Regions from separate parts of the Homo sapiens genome. Here region 1 is linked to region 2. The links are contacts of gene promoters, found by promoter capture Hi-C in human tissues and cell types (Jung and others, 2019). All regions are on one chromosome and are shown on one strand. The core of a region is centred on a gene start or on the middle of the fragment in contact, and the rest is flanking DNA. Distances in the headings are between cores, read along the strand shown. Region 1 overlaps CTDSPL2 (CTD small phosphatase like 2). Region 2 holds the start of HYPK (huntingtin interacting protein K).

Region 1 (5,452 bases), core at 1,055-3,554, 690 kb before region 2:
CAGAGTGAGACTCCACCCCAGACAGGGTCTGGCTCTTTTGCCCAGGCTGGTCTCAAACTCTTGACCTCAAGCAACCCTCCTGCCTTGGCCTCCTGAAGTGCTGGGTTATAGGCCCCAGCCATCATGCCTGGCCCCAAACTATGTTTCTTAACTAATATATATTTACTGCGCTCTCTCAAATACCTGGTACCACAATAAACAACAACAACAAACACAAACAAACAAAACAAATTTAAGATAAAATCTCCATGCCCTAATAAGAAGATGGCCTTCTTCAGTTTTATTTCTGCTTTTAAGAATGGTGGAACACAATTCCATCTTGTACCCTGTCTATCCACCACAGTACTCAGAGGTAATGAAATTCCTGATCCATATGTTTCCACATTTCAAGGACAAATGGCTCCGAAACCCAATAATTATGTTTGGCCTTTATAAGGTTCCAAGTCAGGCTGCAAACTTAGGTATATAGGGAGATCTAGGAACAGAAGCAGTTTTTGGGGGGATGTCATTGATGTAATCAAACAAATCTGAAGGTATGAGACTGCCTCTAGCTAGTGACCTCAGACATAAGGGTCTAAGACTTGTGCAATAATAATAAGGATATTCATAAACATGAGCATATATTTTGTTAGTTGTATTAAATTTCTCCAAGCAATAAGATTAGTAGTAATAATTAAACTGTAAAATGACTAATACTTAGTCAAAATCTTTTAAAAAATTTCAATTTCAAAATGACTTTGGATTTTTGGGACAAAGCTTTGTTTCCAATTTTAACTTTTTCTTAACTTCCAGGAAGAAAAACCTATGCATATAATGTGCTCATTTAAGAAAAAATATGAAATACTGTTATTTTTTATCAACTACTCATGAAGATGTATAAGAAAAGAAATTTTCTTCACCTGTAAGGGGTGGGATATCACGATTAACTGTTTCTTCTGCTTCTTCTAAACCATTGTTTAGTGATGGTCTCACTTGAACTGCTTGATTTGAGTAAGCTGCTCCATTAGTTGATGTAGTAGTACTGGTAGTGATCTCATCCACCTGTTCCATATCAAGTTGTTTTACTATTTCTTCAGCTTCCACAGCCTGTCCTGGAGAATCTGATCCTGACGTTCCTGAAATCATGATTCAGTGTACTATCATCATTTAAAAATGCACCTATTTAGAAAAACTAAATGCAGCATCACCGTACAATATATTTATTTAGACTGATCATTCCTGCAGGAACAAAGCTGAGTATATTGCTTTTAGAGAATCTTTGCTAGCTATTTCAAACAATGAAGAATAAAGACTTACAGGCTAGAGTAACATTTGTGAGCAAAGTTTCTGCATCCTAGTCATGTGTGCAATTGTAATTTTTCAACCAGAGGTATCAAAAAATTAGCTGTTCCCCTAATCATGAGAACCTTTTAATTAAAAGATATAAAAATAATTTCTCAGCAAAACTCCATCTCAATAACAAAGACTGGGCCAGGTGTGGTGACTCATGCCTGTAATCCCAGCACTTTGGGAGGCTGAGGCAAGCAGATTGCTTGAGCTCAGGAGTTCAAAACCAGCCTGGGCAACATGGCTGTCTCTACAAAGAATATAAAAACTAGCTGGGTGTGGTGGTGCACATCTGTGATCCCAGCTACTCATGAGGCTGAAGTGGGAGGATCGCTTGGGCCCAGAAGGAGGTCAAGGCTGCAGTGAACGGTGATCGTACTATTGCACTCCAGCCTGGGTGACAGAGCAAGACCCTGTCTCAATTAAAAAAGAAAAAATAATAATCCCAGGTCTTTCCATTTCCTTCTGGAATCTTCCAAATGTCATTTTAAACAAAAATAACAAAAAAAATTAACCTCCAATATTCTCAACTTCCTTACAGAACATTCCTTCTCCCTTGTTGCTTTAAGTTTAACCTCTTTCCTAAAAGGTTTTTCTGATACCCTTCCCTCAATGCTCTTTATTCTCCCATACCAATATACTAATTGAATCAGAATTCATTTATCTCCATTGCTACTATCCAATCGCTGGTTTTCCACTAATGTGCAAAAAAAGTCTGCTCTTTTGAGACTGATGTCACATGGCTATATAATTCTTCACTTATCCTCACTGCTGGCACCTACCATCTACTGCCAGAATCCTCTCAATCGCAAAGAAGTTTAATACATAGCTACTAGTTTACTGCTCTATTTAACACAGTATTTTTTCTAGTTGTTATTACAGATGATGTCAATGACTCATCCAATGACTAATCCTCAAAGTTCTTGCCCTCTTCAGCTCCAACCACCTTCACTCATACTGCTCTATATCAGTTACTACCATAGCTATAACCTGGACATTAACACTGAGAAACTTCACCTCTGAAGCCTAAAATTCTAATACTGTATTAACCACTTAGCACAACCTCCTAACCCTCAAATTATATATCTCATACTCCCATTATATGTGATCTTCAAACTTGATAAAGGCCAGTCTGTTTAATTCCAAACACGTCCCTCAAACACTTCTTCTCAACCCTCCTCATCTAGTTAGACTTCGTGGTGTATCACTTAAATACACTGTCAAACTGGCAGCCTCAGTATCCTTGATCCCTCATTCCTCCACTGTCATCCATCAAGAAATCCCTCTTGAATCAACGTAACCAACAGGCTTCTCAGACCCTAGTTGCAGGCTATGGAACAAAAAATACAATTACAAAGACTGGTCATAATCCAAATAAAACAGAGACACAGAGACAGGGAAAGGCAGGGGGAGGGGAGGAGGTAGGTGGGGGGGAGGGGGGAAGAGACAGATGTGGGAGTGGAGAGAGAGGTTGTGTGTGTATGGGGTGGGGAGAGAGAGACAGAGACACACACAAAGAAAATATCAATGTAAACCTTCACTATTCTTCCCAAGTCCCTTCCACTAGAACTATCATTAATGACACCATCTCTTCCTTCCAAGAAAACTCTATCAAACTTCAACTCCTTCTTCCCCAGACATCTATTTCTGTACACACCTTCAGAGATATACACACCTTCAGAGATTCTTTACTTCAGCATGAGGGGAAAATATTACTACTGGGGTTTGTTTTTTTTGTTTTGTTTTGTTTTTTGAGATGGAGTTTCACTCTTGTTGCCCAGGCTGGAGTGCAATGGTGCGATCTCAGCTCACTGCAACCTCGGCCTCCCAGGTTCAAGCAATTCTCCTGCCTCAGCCTCTTGAGTAGCTGGGATTACAGGTGGGTGTGCGCCACCATGCCCAGCTAAATTTTTTTGTATTTTTAGTAGAGATAGGTTTCTCCATGTTGGTCAGGCTGGTCTTGAACTCCTGACCTCAAGTGATCCGCCCATCTCGGCCTCCCAAAGTGCTCGGATTACAGGCGTTGAGCCACCGCGCCCAGCCTGAATATTTTTATTTAAATATTTCATGGCATCTCAAACTCAGCATGGTCCAAATTACACTCAATTATCTATCTCCCAGGAACTTTATTTTCCTTGAATCTTCTACTCTTGTGCCATCTTCATCTCTATTCTCTTTCACCTCCAATCTGCACCAAAAATGTGTCTATTTTCTATCCTCTGATCCTTCCTGTCTTCTCTAATACAATTAAGGTCTCATCAAGTCTCACACAAACGACTACAAGTCTACTAATTGTTCTACCTGCCTATGGCCTCTTCAGAATCTAGTCTACACACTACTGCCCAAGTGATCTTTATAAAACATAGATCTGATCGTATTATTCACCAGTTTAAAACCTTTCAGGCCGCTCTGCCTATGGAGGAGGAGCCATTCTTTATTCCTTTTTCTTTTTTTTTTTTTTTTGAGACGGAGTCTTGCTCTGTCACCCAGGCTGGAGTGCAGTGGCATGATCTCAGCTCACTGCAGCCTCCGCCTCCTGGGTTCAAGTGATTCTCCTGCCTTGAGTAGCTGGGATTACAGGCACATGCCACCACATCCAGCTAACTTTTGTATTTTTCTTTAGTAGAGACATGGTTTCACCATGTTAGTCAGGCTGGTCTTGAACTCCTGACCTCATGATCCACCTGCCTCGGCCTCCTAAAGTGCTGTGATTACAGGTATAAGCCACGGTGCCCGGCCTATTCCTTTACTTTCTTAATAAAATTGCTTTCACCTTGGGGAAAAAAACAAAACAAAACAAACTTTCAATTATCCCATACTTGAATAAAGTTCATCATCTTACTATGTTAGCTCTATTATATGACTTCTTCATAGCTCTCCTACCTTATCCCTTCTCAAATGCAATGTTCCATCAATTACAAACTACAAACAGCTCTCAAATACACTATGCTGTTTTCTGCTGCAAGGCCTCTACGCATGCTGCTCCTTCTACCTGGAATGGCTTTTGCCACTTTTCCAGATTCGGCTTTTCTTTCAAGCCTTTTGTGAGCCACTACCCCTGCCACCCAGAAGACAGGACCATTCCATTCTTTTTATTTTTTTTTACGTGGACCCCCTACTTGGCTGTCCAAGCTTGAGTGCAGTGGTACAATCACAGCACACTGCAGCCTCAAACTCCTGGGTTCAAACTGCTGGATTGAAGCATTCCTCCCACCTCAGCCTCTGGAGTAGCTAGGACTACAGGCGTGCACTACCACGCCCAAATAATTTTTACATTTTTTTGTAGAGACAGGGTCTCACTATGTTGCCCAGGCTAGTCTCAAACTCCTGCCCTTGAGCAATTCTCCTGTCTTGGCTTCCCGAAGAGTTCAGATTACCGGCATCAGCCACCACACCCAGCTCCCAAGGAGCTGTATATTATTAATGAGGTGGAAAACATACACGAGACATTGACAAAATATGCTAATAAAATAAAAAAGATCTTTTTAAAAACTATGTATTTTTTTGCTGGGCACAGTTGCTCACATCTGTAATTCCAGCACTTTGGGAATCCGAGGTGGGCGGATCACTTGAAGGTCAAGAGTTTGAGACCAGCCTGGTCAACATGGTGAAACCCCGTCTCAACCAAAAATACAAAAAATATTAGCCGGGCATGGTGGCAGGTACCTACAGTCCCACCTACTTGTAAGGCTGAGGCAGGAGTATTGCTTGAACCTGGGAGGCAGAGGCTGCAGTGAGCGGGGAGATCGCGTCACTGCACTCCAGCCTGGGCAACAAAGAGAGACTTCGTCTCAAGAAAAAAAAAAAAAAAAAACCCAAACTATGCATTTTTTTAAAAAAAATCCAAATCACAGTTAACAGTTTATACTTACCATTTTTATTTGCTGGTGAAAAAAAGTTGAAGACAGGTGAAAATATGGTCCCCAACAAAGTAGTCCTTGGAGGACTGCCAGAGGAAGGATTATCTTCTAATTTTCCATTTTGTTTTACATGTTGATTTGTCATTTCATAACTACCAGCTTCTAAAAAAGAAACAAGAAAAAAGTCATGATCTAGAAAACACTGAATTTCAGAAGTGTGTTATAAATCATTCATTATAGAAGTAACTCTTTTTCCCTCAAAATAC
Region 2 (6,267 bases), core at 3,768-6,267:
AATGTCATCTCTTCAACTAGATGTAAGCTCTTGAAGAAAGGCTCAATACCCTCTGCTTTCTCTGTATCCCTTATTGTAGAGTTTAATAAATTTGTGGTTTGAATATATAGGAAATAAAGCCACAAGATTGATAAGATTTTTTTTATACAGGATGAGGATGAAGAAGTATACAAGAGAGATTTCAGCGCTCCTACCCTGGAGGATCATTTCAATAAAACCATTCTTCCTAAAGTCATGCAGGTATGGGGAACCTTAATAACATGACAGAGAAAAGTGATGTATTGATAGCTGAGGCATGGTTTGTTTGGTGGTATAACTCATCATCCATCCTTCCCTCAGGTCAAGAACTTTGGACGCTCAGGTCGCACCAAATACACTCACCTTGTGGATCAAGATACCACCTCCTTTGACTCAGCTTGGGGCCAAGAGAGTGCCCAGAACACAAAGTTCTTCAAACAAAAGGCAGCTGGGGTACGAGATGTATTTGAGCGGCCATCTGCCAAGAAGCGGAAAACTACCTAGGGTCCAACTGCTTATTCTTCCAACTGTGGAACACAAGGGGAGTCTCAGCATCTGGTCCTTGATTTGGTTTTTTCATTGTTTCCTTGGCCCCTGTATCCAGATATTGGACTTACTGCTATACTTGTGATACTGGGTAGCCCAGACTTTGAAGGTGCTTTGTGAGGTTTGGACTCATGCTGAGAAACCCACAGGAAAGCACTGTCCAGGTAGGATTAGAGGCTTCCCACTTAAAACTATTTCTGAGAAATCTTAGGTTTTATCACTGCTATGGTTTCCCATATTTACTTGGGACTGTTCTGACTTTCTTTTTCCAGCCCTTAGCTTGGGTTAGAAAAGTGGACATGTAAGTGAACAATGCATTACTTCTACCTTAGGTTTAGGAGTAATATACCCGGAAATCTAAGCTCATGGAAACATGTTTTCCATTTTTGCTTGGAGTCCGTTTTTCTAGTTGTACATACTTTTTGATCCATATATGTGTGCATGTCAAGAAATAAAAGAATCACACAACAAGGAGATTTTTAGCATGATACTGGAAATAAAATGTCCAAGCTGACAAGTATTAATTGCCTATTAAAGTAAAAGATAACAATTGTCAGGCAGAAGGTGTTTCACATTTTGATAATTCCCTTTGATCTCAGAAACAAGCTCAGGTACTAGCTTGGCTTTAGGTAGCATCTGGATTTATTCCATGACCAAATACAGATGTTTTTGAGAAGACCAAGGTCTTCTCACATCCTTTAAATGTCCCACTGGAAGAATCAAATAGTTTAGTGTCGTACGATAAAAATGAATGCAAATAATTACTATGAGGTGGTAAATACATAAAGATGAACACAGGTACAAGTCACTGTTGTGTGGGATACAATCTAAGAATTATCCTAGAGTCAGAATGAGGGTAAGGCCTTGAAACTCTTGGAGAAATGTCTGTAATTGCCATTTGAGTGTCCTTACAGCAGACTCAGGGGCCGTTGCAGGGTTTTTTTTTTGTTTGTTTGTTTGTTTTAAAGAGACGGCTCTGTTGCCCAGGCTAGAGTGCCTCAGCCTCCCGAGTAGCTGGGACTACAGGCGCCTGCCACCATGCCTGGCTAATTTTTGTATTTTTAGTAGAGACGGGGTTTCACCATGTTAGCCAGGATGGTCTTGATCTTCACTTCGCGATCCGCCCGCCTCAGCCTCCCAAAGTGCTGAGATTACAGGCGTTGAGCCACTGTGCCTAGCTGGGGCCGTCACAGTTTTATAGTTGAGGAAACTAGTTCAACATGTGTGAGTTGGTCCAAGCTGATTTTTTTTTTTTTTTTTTTTGAGATGGAGTTTCACTCTTGTTGCCCAGTCTGGAGTGCAGTGGCGCGATCTCTGCTCACTGCAACCTCCTGGGTTCAAGAGATTCTCCTGCCTCAGCCTCCCTAGTAGCTGGAATTACAGGCGTCCACCACCACACCCAGCTAATTTTTTTTTGTACTTTTAGTAGAGATGGGGTTTCACCATTTTGGCCAGGCTCGTCTCAAACTCCTGATCCCAGGTGATCCACCTGCCTCGGCCTCCCAGAGTGCTGGGATTATAGGCATGCGCCACCACGCCCGGCCCTGATTAACCTTTAAAGTAAAATTACCTTCTCTCTAGGATAGGAAATGGCATGTAGAATGTATTATGGCTTAGAATTTGAATACCAATCAAAACCTTTCATAGGTTTTTTTCGTTTTGAGACAGTCTTGCTCTGTCGCCCAGGCTGGAGTGCAGTAGCACAATCTCAGCTCACTGCAGCCTCAACCTCCCAGGCTCAAGCAAATCCATCTCAGCCTCCAGAGTATCTGGGACCACAGACAGGCACATGCCACCATGCCTGGCTTTTTTTTTTTTTAATTTTAGTAGAGACAAGGTCATGCTATGTTGCCCAGGCTGGTCTGGAAATCCTGACCTGACACAGTCCTCCCAGCCCAGCCTCCCCAAAGTGCTGGGGTTACAGGCATGAGTCACCACACCTGGCCCAACCTTTGATATCTTCTAGTCTTACCATGTTCTAACCCTCAGGTACCTAAATTCTTTTTTTGGTGGTGGGGGGAGCGCGGTAGAGACGAAATCTCACTGTGTTGCCCAAGCTGGTCTCAAACTGCTGGGCTCAAGTGATCGTCTTGCCTCAGCTTCCCAAGGTGTTGGGATTACAGGCATGAGCCACCATGCCTGGCCCCTAAATTCTTTTTTGTTGTTTTGTTTTTGAGACAGTCTCGCTCTGTCACCCAGGCTGGAGTACAGTGGCACAATCTCAGCTCACTGCAACTTCCGCCTCCCTGGTTCAAGCAATTCTTCTGCTTCAGCCTCCTGAGTAGCTGGGACTACAGGCATGCACCACCACGCCTGGCTAATTTTATTTTTTTTGTATTTTTAGTAGAGACAGGGTTTCACCATGTTGGCCAGGCTTGTCTTCAACTCCTGACCTCATGATCCGACTGCCTCAGCCTCCCAAAGTGCTGGGATTACAGGTGTGAGCCACTGTGCCCGGGCTTTTTTTTTTTTTTTTTTTTTTGAGATGGAGTTTCACTCTTTCCCCCAGGCTGGAGTACAGTAGTACAGTAGTGTGATCTCAGCTCACTGCAACCTCTGCTTTCCAATTTCAAGCGATTCCTGCCTCAGCCTCCAGAATAGCTGGGATTATAGGCGCCCACCACCATGCCCAGCTAATTTTTCTATTTTCAGTGGAGACGGGGTTTCACATGTTGGCCAGGCTGGTCTTGAATTCCTGACCTCGTGATCTACCTGCCTCGACCTCCCAAAGTGCTGGGATTAGAGGTGTGAGCCACAGCACCCAGCCAAATTATTTTTTTTTAATCACTCAAAATCAAGCATGTTGTAGGTACCAAAATTCTAACTCAAGGTGGCCTATGAACTGGGTTCATAACCTACATCTATCTATATATATAGTGGCTCCTAGGCAGGTAGCTGGCCTTTTAGATATTCATAAGCTGTCTTGGAGACACATGCCATTTGAGTACAGTAACTCTGCTGAGACTCCAGATGTACCTTGAATACTGTTGAGAGCTAGTCAGATGAATGAGACTGGCCTGCCACCTAGCATCTGCACATGAGGTATTCTTCTACACTGATTTTTCATACAGGTGTGCTAGATTTTAATGGGTCACTTAAATTCAGTTAGTCTCCAACATATAAATTCTCCACAACATAGGATATAGTATACACTCTACTTGACCCAAGATGATAAAACTGAAAAAGACAAAAAAAAATTTTATTGCCATAAATTAATCCAGTAGGTATATTTGAGAAAGCACGCATCAGTTGGTTAGGGCAATAAGCGCCTCTACCACGTTGCCCATGTGTTCCCGCAAACTGCGTTCTGCTGCTGCTCGAGATATCTCCATCTCAGTCATCTGCAGAAAAAAATCATGTTACATAGGTTCCCAGGCATTAATGTGCCACCAAATATACTGACTCCGCTTGTTTCAGGAAACAACCCAAATTAAGCAGAATAGCCTCCCCTCCGCATACACTAGTTAGGCACTACCACTCACTATTAGCTCCAGATCTTCCTTCTTGATAGTGACTTTTGCCAGTTCTTTCTCCCTGCAAAAATATTTAAATATATTAGTCCTCATTCTCAACCAACACCATAAACTCCCAGGAAGGGTCATTCCCAGAAGTGCCCTGTAAATAAATCTTGATAAACCCTTGATTGAAAATAAAAACTCCCACTAATACTCCTTTCCCCTGGAGTCTTGGCAGCAGGTGTTGCCAGGAGGCCTTCTGCTAACAAGAGTAAAGTTGTGGCGCCTAGATCTGCAGGAATTGGTGATAAATTTGAAGAACGGTATAAAGGCTTAATAATGGTTTTTATTTTTGTCTGGGGACCGGGGAGGGAAGAACTGTTAAAGTTGGCTGCCCCTGAAGACTTACCGCTCCTGTTTGGCTTTCTGCTCCCGGGACCTTCTGTCTCCAATCACAGACATGGCCTATGGGAAAGGCAGGTCTAGTTACTGCACCGCTACCCACAATTCCCAATAATCTAAAAGGCCAACAAAACAAGCGGTTCATGCATGGATTCACGATGACAAGTGTTACCAGGTAGCAAGGACTATGTTTAATTCCATTCTATGCACCTGAGGTCCCCTTAAGCCCACTATCAAGCTCCTTTAGGCAAGCGGCGCGCTCCGGTGACCGCTGTTTCCCTCGGCTCTACCCTATTGCCTCCTCCTGCCAACGGGATCAGAACCCCGTCTTGGAGCGCTGGCTTCCAGCTACAGCCTCAGAGCCCCCCTCTGCTCTCAGCCCGCCCCGACATGCTCTTGGCCAACCTTACCGTCTCCAGATTGGAACTCTGGATCTCCTTCTCCTCTGCATAGTCGGTGACCCGCTCCAAGTCCGCCGCACCGCTGTCATGTTTCCGTGGCTTCTCCGGAGGCCGCTCTGGTCCACTGGTCTCAGTCTCCAACTCCAGCTCCACATCCCCCTCGGTCGCCATATCTATTTCACCACGCCGCCGCATAAGCCCCACCTCACGCCGACTTCCGGCAACTGACACAGCTTCCGCCCGGGGAGGAGGCGGGGCTGGCCCTGGGCCACACCTTCTTTCTGCTCCAGTTCTAGAAGCTTCAGGGAGGAAGGCGGTTCGTCTCTCAGACTTCCTTTCGGGTTTGTACAGTGTTTTGTGCGAGGCCTTCTCTCAGACCTAACCCGACACCGCTCCAGCCCACCCCACCGATATCCTTAACCACCTCATAAACTAGGAATAGTCCCCTCAACACATAAACACGCACCCACCCACCTCAGGGAACTCCGTTCAACCTGAATGACGTCTAATCCTAAACCAATAAAGAATGCTAATCCACAGGGGGCCAGATAGACAAACTGCCCCCTAATCTGGAGAGAACAGCCTGAGTGGCCGCAGTGTTGAGGCCCTAAGGACAAAGCTCCTTCACAGGGCATTTGCATTTACCGCAACCTGGAGGTCAGTGTTCTCTTCCGGACGTCTCCATTCTGCCCGGGACCGGGTGCTCAGCCCCAACACAGTGGCAGTCCAATGGGCTGAGGACAGAAGCAACTGCTGCTCTCATCTGCCTTCCATCTGGTGGACCTAAGCCTAATCCCTGGGACAAGGATGGTGGGTGCCAAGGCCGGCCCCAGCCCCGGCACCTCCCTGGGCCTGGCACAGCAGCACAGCGGAGGCAGCAGTGTCCTAGTGAAAAGTCCCTTCTGTCAGGTGAGAGGGTGCGAAGGGGAGAGTGGCCGAAGCTGGGGAGGAAGACGTGCAGAAGCCAATAAAAACGACAGGCCTCTTTTCTCCTCTAATGTCGTTCTGGTTCGTTGCCCCAGGTATAATCTGTAAATCTCTCCCGCCATGTTTCCAGCCCCAGGTGTTTAGGTCGAGAGAAAGGTCAGATATCTCAAGCCTGCTTATAATGAAAGCCCTACTAAGTTGTCAGTGGGCGGCAATCCCAAATGGCTGGAATCAGCTTGAAACAGAACCTGAGTAAAAGGAAGAAAGGGGAAGGGGAAATTTTGGAATTCAACCTCCTGGGTTAACCTCACACATACATTAACGTATGCCTTTCCTCAGCAAGTCTCCACCTCGCTGCCTTGCATCTGCTCTACTCCCAGGTGTGCTGCTGTGGGCCTGCTCCTTGTGCCAGCTGCTGCCACTCTAGGTGGCCCTCTCTCACCGCATCCACTTGCAGCCGCCTGTTCTACATCCTCCTCCATGTGGGGGCCTCAGCAATCTGCTGCCTCCTGCTGTCA

What was found. Contacts are between HindIII fragments. The study calls those that stand out against the background at their distance.
Region 1: a fragment that was not itself captured here is called in contact with the fragment with the promoter of HYPK in region 2 in 3 of the 25 tissues and cell types used here (IMR-90 fibroblasts, dorsolateral prefrontal cortex and mesenchymal stem cells).

What each region holds. Positions count from the first base shown.
Region 1 is chr15:44,486,447-44,491,898 of GRCh38, reverse strand. CTDSPL2 (CTD small phosphatase like 2) reads right to left here. Exons shown (of 13, transcript NM_016396.3): 4 at 5,199-5,348; 5 at 900-1,115. Among named protein-coding and RNA genes, the nearest start is that of EIF3J-DT, 48 kb to the left of the region's middle. The HindIII fragment of the contact is 5,338 bases long and covers 1-4,973 here.
Region 2 is chr15:43,799,349-43,805,615 of GRCh38, reverse strand. It overlaps HYPK (huntingtin interacting protein K), which reads right to left and starts at 5,017. Exons shown (of 4, transcript NM_016400.4): 1 at 4,832-5,017; 2 at 4,429-4,484; 3 at 4,047-4,098; 4 at 1,189-3,905. The coding sequence starts at 4,993. The coding sequence ends at 3,810. SERINC4 (serine incorporator 4) reads left to right here and starts at 5,396. Exons shown (of 12, transcript NM_001258031.2): 1 at 5,396-5,731; 2 at 6,130-6,267. The coding sequence starts at 5,630. SERF2-C15ORF63 (SERF2-C15orf63 readthrough) reads right to left here. Exons shown (of 6, transcript NR_037673.1): 3 at 4,832-5,121; 4 at 4,429-4,484; 5 at 4,047-4,098; 6 at 3,027-3,905. It overlaps MFAP1 (microfibril associated protein 1), which reads left to right. Exons shown (of 9, transcript NM_005926.3): 8 at 151-240; 9 at 340-1,124. The coding sequence ends at 522. RefSeq lists enhancers at 4,741-4,990, 4,898-5,598, 5,599-6,267. The HindIII fragment of the contact is 6,811 bases long and covers 1,453-6,267 here.